2 separate regions of the Homo sapiens genome follow, and region 1 is linked to region 2. Evidence: promoter capture Hi-C in human tissues and cell types (Jung and others, 2019). All regions are on one chromosome and are shown on one strand. Each heading gives the region's core, a stretch centred on a gene start or on the middle of the fragment in contact. The rest is flanking DNA. Distances are from core to core; before and after follow the strand shown.

Region 1 (6,903 bases), core at 1,839-4,338, 36 kb before region 2:
AAAGATATACCATACTAAAACTCATCAAAAGAAAGCTGGAATGGATAGATTAATACCAAACACAGCAAATTTTAGAGCAAAGAATATTGCCAAGAATAAAGAAGCTTATTTCATAATGTTAGTGGGTCAATAGGTCAATACATCAAGAGAACATAATAATTCTAAACATTTATGTACTAATAAAGTTTTGTTTGTTTGTGTGTTTGTTTGTTGTTTGTTCTTCTGAGATGGAGTTTTGCTCTTGTTGCCCCAGGCTGGAATGCAGCGGTGTGGTCTTGGCTCACTGCAACCTCTGCCTCCTGGGTTCAAGCAATTATTCTGCCTCAGCCCCCTGAGTAGCTGGGATTACAGGCACCCGCCACCATGCCTGGCTAATTTTTGTATTTTTAGAAGAGACAGGGTTTCACCGTGTTGGCCAGGCTGGTGAACTCCTGACCTCAGGTGATGCGCCTACCTTGGCCTCCCAAGGTGCTGGGATTTCAGGTGTGAGCCACTGCGCCCTGCCTACTAATAACAAAGTTTTAAAATGCACGAAGCAAAATGTGGTAGAACTTCAAAGAAAAATAGATAAATCTATACTTACAGTCAGAAATGTCAATACCTCTTTCTCAATAATTGAGGGAATAAGTAGACAGAAAAATCAGAGTATAGAAGCATGGACACTATTAACAAAGTTAACTTAATTGAAATTTATAGCATATTCTATCCAACAACAGCAGAATGTACATTATTTTCAAGTGCACATGACATATTTACTAGGCAGACCATATTCTGGGACATAAAATAAGTCTCCATAAATTTTAAAGGATTCAAGTCATACAAAATATGTTTTTTGACTACAATGGAATAGTATTGACCACACTTGGAATAGGGTGACAACTTCAAGCAGTGCTTGTTCTCACCAGTAACCAACCCCAGCAGGAAGGAGGAGCTGGGGGTGGGAGAATTAGGGTTTTAAGTTGCCATATCACAAGTGAGAACTTTCCTGTGTGCTAGGACATTTGTGTTCAACATGTGTTTTCAGTTCTCAGAGGAATCCACATGACTAAGGGAGTCCTTTCTAAAACCCCAGGACATCTTGCTTTCAGATGTGATCAATGATACACAAATCTCATTCTAAAGAGAGATAAATTAGGGAATAGTTTTTCACTTGACAGAAAGGATGATCCTATTTGCTTTGTTAATGGATTGGACTTGGGTGATATTTTCTATTGCCCAAAGAGCATAGCTCCTCCATGGAGCCATATTTTCAAAACTTCCTTTTACATTCAGCATTGAAAGAACACATTTGTTGCATATATTGAGGAGGACTGTTTGCAAATCATGCCCCAAATCAACATTTGAAGGTCTAAGTGCTGCTCATCAGAGAGAAAGGTGGTTCAGCGTATGTGGGAGTCAGTAAGGATTCAGGGCAGAAGCTACACAGAATGGCCCAGCAGGGACTGGCTCCCAGTAAATTATTTTCTTGCTTATAGATTTCCTACCCAGTAGAATCACTGAGGTGATTTTAGTGACTAGACACAAATAACAGGCTTCTTAGAGTTTAAGATTTGAACCAAGTTGAACTTTTGCGAATGTGACTAAGGCCTGCCAGCTTGATGGCAAACCTGGGCCCAGCATCAGGTACAACAGAAGGCAAACCCTGACCGGAAAATTGTGCTTTGCTTTTCATTTTATTGTCACAATTTTTCACAGTTTGCCTCATGCCACCTTGTTACTTAATTCCCACACCTCGGAGGAAAAATGTGTAATCTTTTAATATTTATGTTACTTAAGATACTTAAGATTATGTTTCTGCCTAGGTGTTGCCAAGATAGTCAAGCCAACTCTTGTGTATAGAGGGTAGAAAATATAAATCTGTCTAAACTCTTTCATGAAGTGAAGGTCTTAATATTTCCGAAGAGTTGAATTTGGTACTACTCTTGGAGAGCCTTAGAGAAGCGTTGTCAATACAAGGCGTCATTGTTTTAGGTTTCCTATCCATGACTTGCTTTTTTCCCCAACTTTCCTCTCTTTTGGCAACTTCTCCTCACATTCTGTCCTACATTTGGCCCTGAGTCAGTTGAAAGCTTTGCAAGTTGATTTTCCATTCCCATCTGAATTTTAGCTTAGCTGTGGAACTGTTTTCCATGTGTTTTTAATCATTTGTCCATGTGTTATGAGCTTATAGGGACAATATGGTTCCCCCAAGCTGCCTGCATTGTATAAGCAGAAACTGGCAAGGTGGCCAGTGGGGGAACAGTTTTCAGACAGATGCCCCCTACACTCATTTCTGTTGGTGATACACCACCCCCATGCTCCAACTGGAGTAAAACAATTTACAAGCTGCATAAAGTTACCCAACAGACATATAGTCCTCTGGCATGAATTACCTTTTTTAGGAGTGTGATTATCCTTCAGGGGAGACATGCCTGGGAACTGTGGCTGGTGTGACAATGTTCTAAGGCCTGCTCTGAGACTGTGGCCAGGCTGGGAAATGAAGAATGGTTTAGTCCCAGATTCCATGGAAATTTGATTTTAAAATAGAATCTAAACACAGAGAATTAAGTATAAGTTATCCAGGACAAAGCGATACTTCTTAGAAAGTAAAACACAACAAGGGCCTATGTCAGAAGTTTCCTTTCGCATTTTTATTGGACTCAGTATGTCAAAACAAACATCCATTCACCTCCTAAATGTAGACTGAGGGACCAGGAATGGAAAAGAAACAGAAAAATGCATTAAACAAAATCCCTTTTCTCAAAGTTGCTGACAATGTAGTCTCCAGCAAACATAATCCCTGCCCTTGAGGATCCTCTCTTCCTTGTTAGAAAGATATGCATGTACCCAAATTAAGACAAGCCCGAGGAATCACCGAATAGCCGAATCAAGAAGGAACTTGGCTTTTCAGAGTCCCAAATACATCTCAGTGACATGGAGGAGATGTCTCCCTTGTAAATCCAGAAGTGGATGTGAGAAAGTAGAGGTTGGATTGGGAGAAAGCTTGCCAATATTTGACTGGAAAACGCAGAAGACAACACTGAAGTACAGAACCTGAAAACTTCTATGGAATCAAGAAAATTTGAAATGATCAAACATTATATAAAAGCATCCAGTGGAGTGCAAAAGTTTGACCATTCAGGGTAGACTATGGAGTAAAGTGGTTGGAAAGGATGTGATTCCAACAGCAGTGTGGAAAGGAGAAACGAACTGGTGTGGTTTGATGGTCAAATGTAAGGAGACTCACTTATCTGATGGGTTCTATCTTTCTCTGCAGAAAAAGGGGTCATCTATCAAAAACGAGGAAAGAGGCAGAGCAGTCAAAGGTTTTAGGTAATTAGAGAAGATTTTCACTAACCCACATGGAAAATGAAAAGTGAGTTGAATAGAGGAATGAGAAGGATTGGTGAGCAGAGTTGAGGGTTCCGTTGAGACAGAAGGAAATTTGTATAGAATCCATTTTTGCCCATTTTGTCTGTGTCTCTAAAAGCACTCCCTATCCCAGGCGTGGGCCCAGTTAAGATGAACAGCTGGGTGTTTTCAGGGTTGGACTTTTTGTTGTTGTTGTTGTTTTAGAAAGACTCTCGCCCTGTCGCACAGGCTGGAGTGCAGTGGCACAATCTCGGCTCACTGCAGCCTCAGCCTCCTGGGCTCAAGCGATTCTCATGCCTCACCCTCCCAAGTGGCCAGGATTACAGGCGGGCTCCACTGTGCCTGGCTAATTTTTGTATTTTTAGTAGAGACAGGGTTTCACCATGTTGGCCAGGCTGGTCTCGAAGTCCTGAACTCAGGTGATCCGCCTCCCTCGGTCTCCCAAAGTGCTGGGATGACAGGCGTGAGTCACCACGTCCGGGCCCAGTGTTGGACTTTTATTAGATGTGTGTGAGAGAATAAAAAAGGGACTAGGGAAAATATTGCAAAAGTTTGAAGTGATGGACCATGGAATTAAAGTGGGATAGGGAAGAAAATGAAGACAAAGAATTTATATATGTTAATCAATTAATTACATTATTCATTTATTATTACATGAATATTTTAGGGCATTTACTATGTGAAAGGCTGTGCTACAGCCTGAGCTGATGACTAAAAAGACCCCACTTTTATGGACTTTAAAATCTGGGCCGGGCGCGGTGGCTCACGCCTGTGATCCCAGCACTTTGGGAGGCCAAGACGGGTAGATCACAAGGTCAGGAGATCAAGACCATCCTGGCTAACACGGTGCAACCTCGTCTCTACTAAAAATACAAAAAAATTAGCCGGGCGTGGTGGCAGGCGCCTGTAGTCCCAACTACTCGGGAGGCTGAGGCAGGCGAATGGCGTGAATCCTGGAGGCGGAGCTTGCAGTGAGCCGAGATTGCACCGCTGCACTCCAGCCTGGGCAACAGAGCGAGACTCTGTCTCAAAAAAAAAAAAAAAAAAATCTTAAGTGGAGGCAGATGTTAAATGTTCAGTCAAAAATTATTTCATGACAAAGGTGGTAGTACTATGATAGAGATAAAGTACGGGACAGATGCTGTAGGAACTGAAACAACACAATATTGTTATGAGAGAGTGGAATGTGAATTCACAGTTTAGAGGTAGAGCTGTTCTTGATAGTAACAGGGGTCAGAATGTAATCGGGGTAGGGAGGCCAATTGGCATGAGAGCAGTCAGATTTCAGCCAGGGTATCGAATGGGACTTCCATGGGATACTGATGAAATGCTAATGGTCAAACCCAACCACATGGACACTGAAGTCACCCAGGATGATAGTAAGATTCAGGGTGAAAAGAAGGACCGTGGACTAAATGAGGAAGACAGGGCAAGTAATATTGCCTCTACAGACATTCAGGGACATAAAGTTAAGTGCCTGATGCCATAGAGTTTACAAGCTGTAATGCAGTTCGAGGAATCAGATTTAGTTTTTTTGGCCTCAAGTCCAGAGATAGTTCCACTGACATTACTTAGCTCTGAGATCAGCTTTCTACAGAAGGAAAAACAGACAAGGTAAATTTTAAAGATGAGGAAGAAGGAGCAGGACAGAGATGTTGCATCAGTGACTGCATCCTGAACTGGCTCTAAGTATAGGCACAGGCATTGGAGATGGATGGACAGGTAGGAAGGTGGGGCACATGGTGAGGGACAGCTCAGGCTGCCTTGGCCTAATTCTCAGATTTGCAGGAGCCCTCTCTGCAGTCTTGGTAGGGAGATGATTAGACACATGTAGATATTGTCCATGACTTGTGCACAGTAGTAGATACATCTTCAGATGCAAAAAACAAAATACCCAGAATACAGAAAACTATTTCTCAATGGTGTTGGAGGGTGTTTTGAACAGAGGGCAGTGAGATCACCGAAACTACAAACAGAATAATCTAATCTTTAAAAGACAATCTAACCATCAGTGCCTTGAAGTGGAAATGGGGATTTTTTTGTTGGCAGTTACACCATTTGATATTTGTCCTTTTCCACTGGTCACACATTTTGGTATCTTTGGGTGACAGTTTTAAAAGATTGAATAAAGAAACTGATAATAATGGTTCTCTCCATGGCAAGGACAGGCAGCCTGGGGTGGAGTCAGAGGAAGATCAACCTTTCGTTGTGCATTTTTTTGTGTGTTATTTGAATTTTGTTACTATGCGTATTTATTACCTACTCAAAAATAAAAGAAATGTACTGCACCATGTCTACAGTGCTTCCTTGAATTCAACAAATATTTATTATTGAATAAAATTAGCACAAATAAAGCATACAGTTCACTGCATCTTTGGGATTTGGCTCTACTTGAAAGTCCCTGATTAGTACAGGAATGATGCCTGCCTAAATTTTGTTTCTTTCTTTCTTTCTTTTTTTTTTTTTGAGATGAAGTCTCCCTTTGTCGCCCAGGCTAGAGTGCAGTGGCATGATCTTGGCTCACTGCAACCTCCACTTCCCAAGTTCAAGCAATTCTCCTGCCTCAGGCTCCAAAGCAGCTGGGATTACAGGCACCAGCCACCATGCCCAGCTAATTTTTGTATTTTTAGTGGAGACAGGATTTCACCATGTTAGCCAGGCTGGTCTCGAACTCTGGACCTCAGGTGATCTGCCCACCTTCGCCTCCCAAAGTGCTGGGATTACAGGCATGAGCCACCATGCCTGGCCTAAATTTTCCCTGTAAAACTTATTTTGAATATACTAGGCTGTCCCTATAGATTGCAAAATCCACTAGACCTGAAACTGAACAAAGACACTCTCAACACTTATCTCCAGTTCCTAGAACAGAGCTGGCACTCAGGTGTGCGCTGTAAGAATGAAAGAATTAGTCCAGTTAAAGGAGCAGCTTCAGGGAATGGGGCTCTTCCTCACGTGTCTTTTCCATGGAAAGGGGAGGAGGGAGTGTACATTTTGAATAATTAAGTAAATTGTTTATTTAAAAGTTTAAGGGGAAATCATATATCCTAATTTTCCCTTTTCCTTGTTCCTTGGAAAATAAGAAAAAAGGTCCTGTTTTCTTCTGAGTTAAAAAAAAAATAATCTAACCTGCCATGACATGATTGCTATTCTGTATTTTGAAAAGAGAGGTAGTGATGAGGCAGTGGCATGCTCCCCAGTCAGATTTCTCTCCTGAATCCTTCAACCCAAATGTCCTTTTCCAGCTCTCAGTTGTCCTGTTTAACTGTAATGTCCACCCCCCACCTCAACACTGCCTCTCACCTTTTGTTGATTTAAGATAGGTTTTTAGGGAAGAACTTAGTCTCTCTGTTCGCCCTTGGAGAGCACTGGGCTTCTTTTTAACTGTCTTCTGAGAGTCTGTAAGAGGGACAGAAAATGTAGCTGTTGCTGTCCTCTCATAGGCACACTGGGGAGGTCTGAAAAGGAGACAAACCACCTCAACGTGTCTTGAGCGGCTGGGTCTCATGGGCCTCTTTTCTTGTCCATTTTATAAAAGTGTCACCAGCATATGAA
Region 2 (6,440 bases), core at 3,941-6,440:
GAAGGGAGACACAGAACCTTAACCTGATATGTGTGAGAACAGCAGTACTCTCTTATTTTTCATGACTGGTCCTACAGACTTCGCACCCATTTGAGCCATCATAACAAGTGTGTAGTGGGGCTTCTAGAATTTATGGCTCTGGAGCCCAATAGAGTGCAGGGCTGGATATATTGACTTGGAAGTAGTTGAAACATAGGAGATTCTTGAATCATTTCTTTCTCTATCTGATCCTTAAAGGTACTGTGGTTGTTTCTGCCCTTCGCTCTCTTCTCCTACTGCATCCCATTTCTTGGTGACCAAATCCACTCTTACATTCTCAATTGTTCCTGCTGGCAGAGATTCCCTGAAGCCATATTGCAACCTTGAACTTGCTTCCCTAGTTCAGCCATAGACGCCCACTTTATTTATCTATTGCTAGGACATTTGTTTCCTTTTTGCTATTTTCTTTATAATGAACTCTCTCAACAAAAATCTCAATCTCCGTCCTTCATGCAAAGAGGTTGGCACCATCAAAATTGTCCTACTTTTAATATGTTATTTATATTTTGATAGGGAAGGACTTTTTAAATCACTTTTCTATACCCATTTTACTTCCCTATTATCTTGGGACTCTGTTAATTCTATTTACTTAAATTAAGCTGTTGTGAATAGACTCTACTCACAATTTTTTTTTAGAAAGCACCTGTTTCCTCTGCTTTCTACATCAATCCACATTTCTTCAAAAGATGAGGGATGAGGATGACCTAGTCAAAGCCTTGCTTCCTCCCATATTGGAAGAGTCCCTGTGTGAACTTATGAGCCTTATTACTTGTAATGGAAGCTACTTTATTGTGCTATTGACACGGAAAGGGAGACTCTTTCTTGACTTTGAGTCCTGGGGAGTGGAAAACTTTCATCATCAAATGAGTTGTTAAAACCTAGAGGATTACACCTGTAGCCTGACAAACTCATATTTATTGCCTTGCATAGAGAGATGTCACTCCTAGGCAAGAGGGAGGAAGGAGGCATCTTTTGTAAATTGAACTTCCATTGAAGAATTTTGAGGAGCATCTAAGGGAAGCAGGTATCCATTTTGGATTGGTTGTTTTGAGGTGGGATTAGGAAAAGAGAGATTTAGCCAGGATTGGATGCTGTCATGAGGGGATGATGGCTGAGCAATTGGGTATCTCTAGTAATAAATGAAAATAGCCAGCAGTCAGGGGCATCATTGGTGAGAAGTCAGCAATCACCTAAAGAGGGGATCATTATGGCACTTTATAACTGCTGCATGACCTTGGCAGAAAGTGTTTCCTGCTAATTTTGCAGCTGGCTTTATCTGTGTCTGTCCTCCTTGTCTGATTAGTGGCAGGGCTTCTTTTCTCTTTTCAGTCCAAATTGATTCTCACTCTTTTAATCCAAAAGAGATTTTAACTCTTTCAGCATCCTAGACTCAACTCATCAGAACATTCACTAGGATGCGTTTTCCTACTAGCACTTAACCAAGTGTAAGAATCTCAGGTTCATCATGATTTAATTGAATAGAAACTTCTAGAGCCACCATCAAACAATCCAAAGTTGAGGTAAAGCAATGTGGCCTAACAGGTTCCAATGTAGTATACTTAGAACCTTTCCAGATGCCCCACTACTCTGCCTTTTGATAATACCACTGCCCTCACTAATAGTCTTTTCCAGCTTGGAGCAGGTCATCACCTTTTGCCAAAAGCCTAAGGACTCTTCATTGGGAATAGCATTGTTTCTGAGGCTCACCATGCTTGGAATCTGTTCCACATTTCCAGCCCTCTCTCTTTCCATGTATCCTACCTTTGAGCCACACCAGAGGGATTCTTGCACTTTCATTTCTCTATGTTTTTGCTTACACTTTCCTCTGTCCTGAAATTTCTTTCCCTCCTTTCCCCCAATCAAAATCCTATTCTCACTTGCCTGATACAGGAACCATTCTCCAAGAAGCCACCCTTGAACTATCCCATGGAAATTACTAGTTTCTTCATTAGCACTTCCATAAAACTTTCCTTGTAACTCTGTTTAGCACTGCTATTGTTTTTTTCTCCTAAGCACACAGTCGTTTTTGTTTGTTTGTTTTGCAGTTTTCCTTGATATTTGGGGAAAAATGTTTATTTTACCTACTCTCTACATTCTAGGGATATTTCTTAGCCTGAAGTTCCTGGCTTCGCTGTGATCCTTTGGAGGCATAGGAAGGTGGGGCAACTTGTGAAACTTCATATATATAAATTTCATATATATAAATATATATGTTCCTGTATGTGTGTGTGTATATATGTGTGTGTGTGTGTGTGTGTGTGTGTATTTGTGTATATGTGTACTTTGCTGGGGTCCACAACTTTCATCAGATACTCAAAGAGATGTGTAACCCAAAAGAGAAGAGGTTAAGAACAACTTTTAGAATATTAGATTGTTATGGCACAGGCACTCTGCCACTCAAACAGATGGGAGAGACAACTATAGGCAACCAAGAAATCATGAATGTGCATCAAATATGGGTGCTTAAGGCATGGTACCCAGCTGGGCAGGTGGAGAATGCCATCCATCCAAAGCTGCCAAGGGCTATTAGCCAGTACTGATTAAACTCTGGACTGCACTGATTTTTGGAAATTGCACTAAAATCCAGATCCTCCCTAGTCACGGCACAGAAGCACAGGAGTTGGCTGTGTTTACCCTCATAAATGCCCTGAGTGTGCCTTTGTTAGAAGCTTGGTTGGCAGTGGCAGCAATGCTACTTGTCCTTGTCTACTTTTTCTACTTCCAGATAAATATTAGTTTGATTAATAATCACATTTCAGTTTGTCCCAGGCCCCATGAAGTAGATTAGAATTCTGGAGGGAAAAAATATGGTACGATCTATATCGTCTTTCCATAATATACCCAGTAAATAGAAAATCTTTTCAAAAGATTACCTGATGCCACATCTCCCTCACCCCCTTATTGTTACCCAGGTGCCTGAATGTATGGGTTGCAATACAATATAACCAATGATTAGCATGAATGATAGAACCAGATGACTTGACCTTCAGTGTAAGGGATAGGCAGGCCTTTGATTATACTCATGAAATGCCCATGCTAAAAAGGTTCATGTTTTTAAGGATGTTTCTCCTGCCTCTTCTCTCCTATTCCCTTGCTTAAAAATTCTCTGTGGAATTGATTTGGCTGATAAAAGACAGGCTAACTTATTTTAAAAAGGGACTGAAAAATCCATGCACTTCCAATTGTCATGTGCAATCATGGACCTGTCAACTAATTCTTATTTTGGCAGTTTTGAGATCACTTGTCACAAATTATTCCCTCTCACAGGGGTATCTGAAGAGAAAGCAAAATAATATGCAATTCATGTAGCTGGATTCAGGTGGAGGGGATTCTACTTTTAATATGCAATTGGGTAGCTGGATTTGGGTGGGGGGGGGATTTTACATTTAATATGCAATTCTGGTAGCTGGATTCGGGTAGGGAGGAGTCCACATTTAATATGCAATCAGGTAGCTGGATTTGGGTAGAAGGGATTCACATTGAATACGCAATCAGGTAGCTGGATTCCGGTGGGAGGATTCCACATTTCCTCTTCCTTCAAAGTGATTGTTTATATGAAATATCTCCTTCTTTTCAAACAGAGAAAGTTACAAAAATCCTACTACATCAAATGATTTATGAAAAATAAAGGTAATTCTATCAAAAGCAATCGTGACTAGTCTTTCAACCTCGCTATGCATATATCGGGGAGTGTATTTGTTAACCTGAAAGGCAATAAAATCTGCTTATGGGTAAATCAATTCCTACCACTGGGTTCTTTTGGGAATATCTAGTAATCTAGGTCAGTAATTCTAAAACTTGAGTGTGTATTAGGATCACCTAAAAGGCTTGTTACATCACGGATTGCTGGGCTACACCTAAACAGTTTCTACTACAGTAGATCTGGGATGGGGCAAAAGAATATGGATTTCTCACAAGTTGACAGGTGATACCGATGCTGCTGGTCTAGGGATCCCACTTTGATAACCACTGACCAAAGTTTTTAAGGTCACAAGGTGTTTATAATTAGTTCAGAAACCAGGACACAACATGTTTAAAAATCCTTAGCAATACAAGGTAATATGAGGCCCCAAACAGGCAACAATGTGCACTATATAAGGGCAGTGGTGAGAGAACTCTGGTTTGGCAAGATTTCCACTCTCAAATCTGGATAGGGTTAAGATCATCAGAGAGCAGGGCATTCTAGAATGGGGAAATGAACCAAATTAGTTGGAGCTAAGACTGGAGAGGTAGGTAGGGATGTGTCTGTGGAGGGCTTTTAAGCACATCTTATAAGGAATACAGATTTTATACAACAGGTAATATTTCTTCCACCAACACACTGTCTCCTCCTGTGGCACGTGGGCAGAAAGATCTAGCTCCACATTACTGCAAACGGTTTAACCTTCCCCAAATACTGTTCAGCCGGAGTGAGGTGGGAAAGTTAGTAGATCTCTGGTGTTTGGTGAAGATACCAAGTTAGACTGAGAGGTGGATTACTTGCATCGCTGAGTCCAAAAGTTGTCGGCTTTTGCAGGGATGGGAAAGCAGGAAACTTTTGGAGGTCTCCCAAAATATAAGAAAAGATTGTTTGGGTGTGGATTTAGGTTGAGGACAGGAACAGGAAATATCCTGGGATGTCTGAGGCAACCCAATAGAGGGTCTGAAGTGGACGAGACCATGCACTACAGTGCAATGCTTTTCCATCTTTACGGTGCACCCCAGGAGTCACCTGGTGATCTTGCTGAAGTGCATGTACTGATTCAGCAGGCCTGAAATTGTGCATTTCAAAGATTGTGAGTTCCCAGAGGATGCTGATGCTGCAGACCGCGCTTTGAAGCAAGGTACCATGGGACATCCCAGAACACCTGCGGGGAGAGAGGCCTGCTGGCCACATCCCCCGAAGAAAGGATACATGCAATCTTTTAAGCTAAGGCCCCCATCCTGTCTCTCGGGAGAGGTGAGCAGTGAGGATATGGGGACAATGAGAAGGACGGCTCAAGTAGGGCTGGGGAGGGGCAGAGGCGCCCAGGCGCGCCAGGTGCAAGCGCTCTGGAGAGTGCGGTCTGCCTGGGTCCGCGGCTCTGGGGCTGCGGCGCGATTGCAGGAGTTTCGGCCCTCAGCGGCTCCCATCGCGGCTCCCGGGAGCTAAGCGAGACGGCGACGGCGGCAGTCGTCCCTCCCCACGCGGGCGCGCGGGCATGCGGACACCCACTCGGCCGGTCCAGGCCCTCAGGCTCCCGGAAGCGGAAGGGGAGAGCGGCCCGGCCTGGGCGGCGGCGCCGGAGGAGGCGGAGGTGGCGCGGCAGGAGGAGGGGAAAGAGCTGCTGGCGGTCGGGAGAGCGGCGGCAGCGAGAGGCGAGCCAGCGGCGACGGTGAGTGTGCAGGCGCGGGGGCGAAGCGGCCGCCCCCACCCCCATCCCCATCCGCACCCCCACCCCCATCCCCGGCCCCCGCTCCGCTCTGCCGGGCCCGCCCGCCGCTCCTCCGCGCCGGGACGCCCTCACCTGTTCCTGCACGCCCCCTGCACCTGCTCTGTTTGGAACCCGGGGGTTTCTCGGTGCCTCCCCGCCCCAGGCCTGGCCTTTTTCAGAGCGTCTTCTGCTAGAGCTACAGCCCCTTGCTAAGTGCTCCTCCCTCAACTGGGGGTGGGGGGTTCCTGCTCTAGTCGAGACGATGTTGGCTAGTTATTTATTTATTTATTTTAAATCTGTATCCTGAGTTTCTCGCTTGTAAACTACAGTTTCTCTCCCCGCACCCCCGTCTGGAGACCTGCACTGGGATCCCGGGTTTCTCTGTGCTATTCCAGAGCTTTTCATTCATTCCAGACTTCTGGTGTGAAGCTGCAGAGAGGACAAACAGTTTGCTCCTTTATTGACCTTCTCACTCCTCTCCTCTTGATCCAAAGAGGTTTTCGGAAAATGGCTTATGGATGGCAGCAGTTTGCACTTGTTACTGTTCACTGTAACAGGTCGCTGGATTGTAACTGCAGAGTCCATTTAAGTTACGGTCTTTTTCAAGCTATATGTGGGTCACATTTTAAGATCCCTTGAGAGTCAGGGTGGATGTCTGTATCACCAGGGCTGAGAGGACATGACCAATTATTACTTTAAAATATTGCAATATAGCAGTCTCTAAAAGTAGAAGAGAAAAAAAAATCAAGGTCATTGTGGGCGGGTCATAAATTATATTGTAAAGTTACAGTCCAAAGGCGACTAAGGATAATTAAGTGCAATTTAAAAAGATGTGTTAAATAGGTCCTCAGCCTACTATGCTAATATATGCACTTTTAAAAATTCACTGCTTTCCTTGTGGTAAGAATAATATTAATAACAGTCACCATTTGATGACTGCTTAGTATGCGCCATTCCTGGATTAAAAGGCTTTTGGTGTAATATTAAATTCTTCCAACTCTTTAGATT

What was found. Contacts are between HindIII fragments. The study calls those that stand out against the background at their distance.
Region 1: a fragment that was not itself captured here is called in contact with the fragment with the promoter of ZDHHC21 in region 2 in 1 of the 25 tissues and cell types used here (lymphoblastoid cells).

What each region holds. Positions count from the first base shown.
Region 1 is chr9:14,725,904-14,732,806 of GRCh38, reverse strand. No RefSeq gene overlaps it. Among named protein-coding and RNA genes, the nearest start is that of CER1, 6.6 kb to the right of the region's middle. The HindIII fragment of the contact is 4,002 bases long and covers 1,088-5,089 here.
Region 2 is chr9:14,692,182-14,698,621 of GRCh38, reverse strand. ZDHHC21 (zDHHC palmitoyltransferase 21) reads left to right here and starts at 5,190. Exons shown (of 10, transcript NM_178566.6): 1 at 5,190-5,393. RefSeq lists an enhancer at 4,685-5,185 and silencers at 5,259-5,328, 5,409-5,548. The HindIII fragment of the contact is 8,706 bases long and covers 614-6,440 here.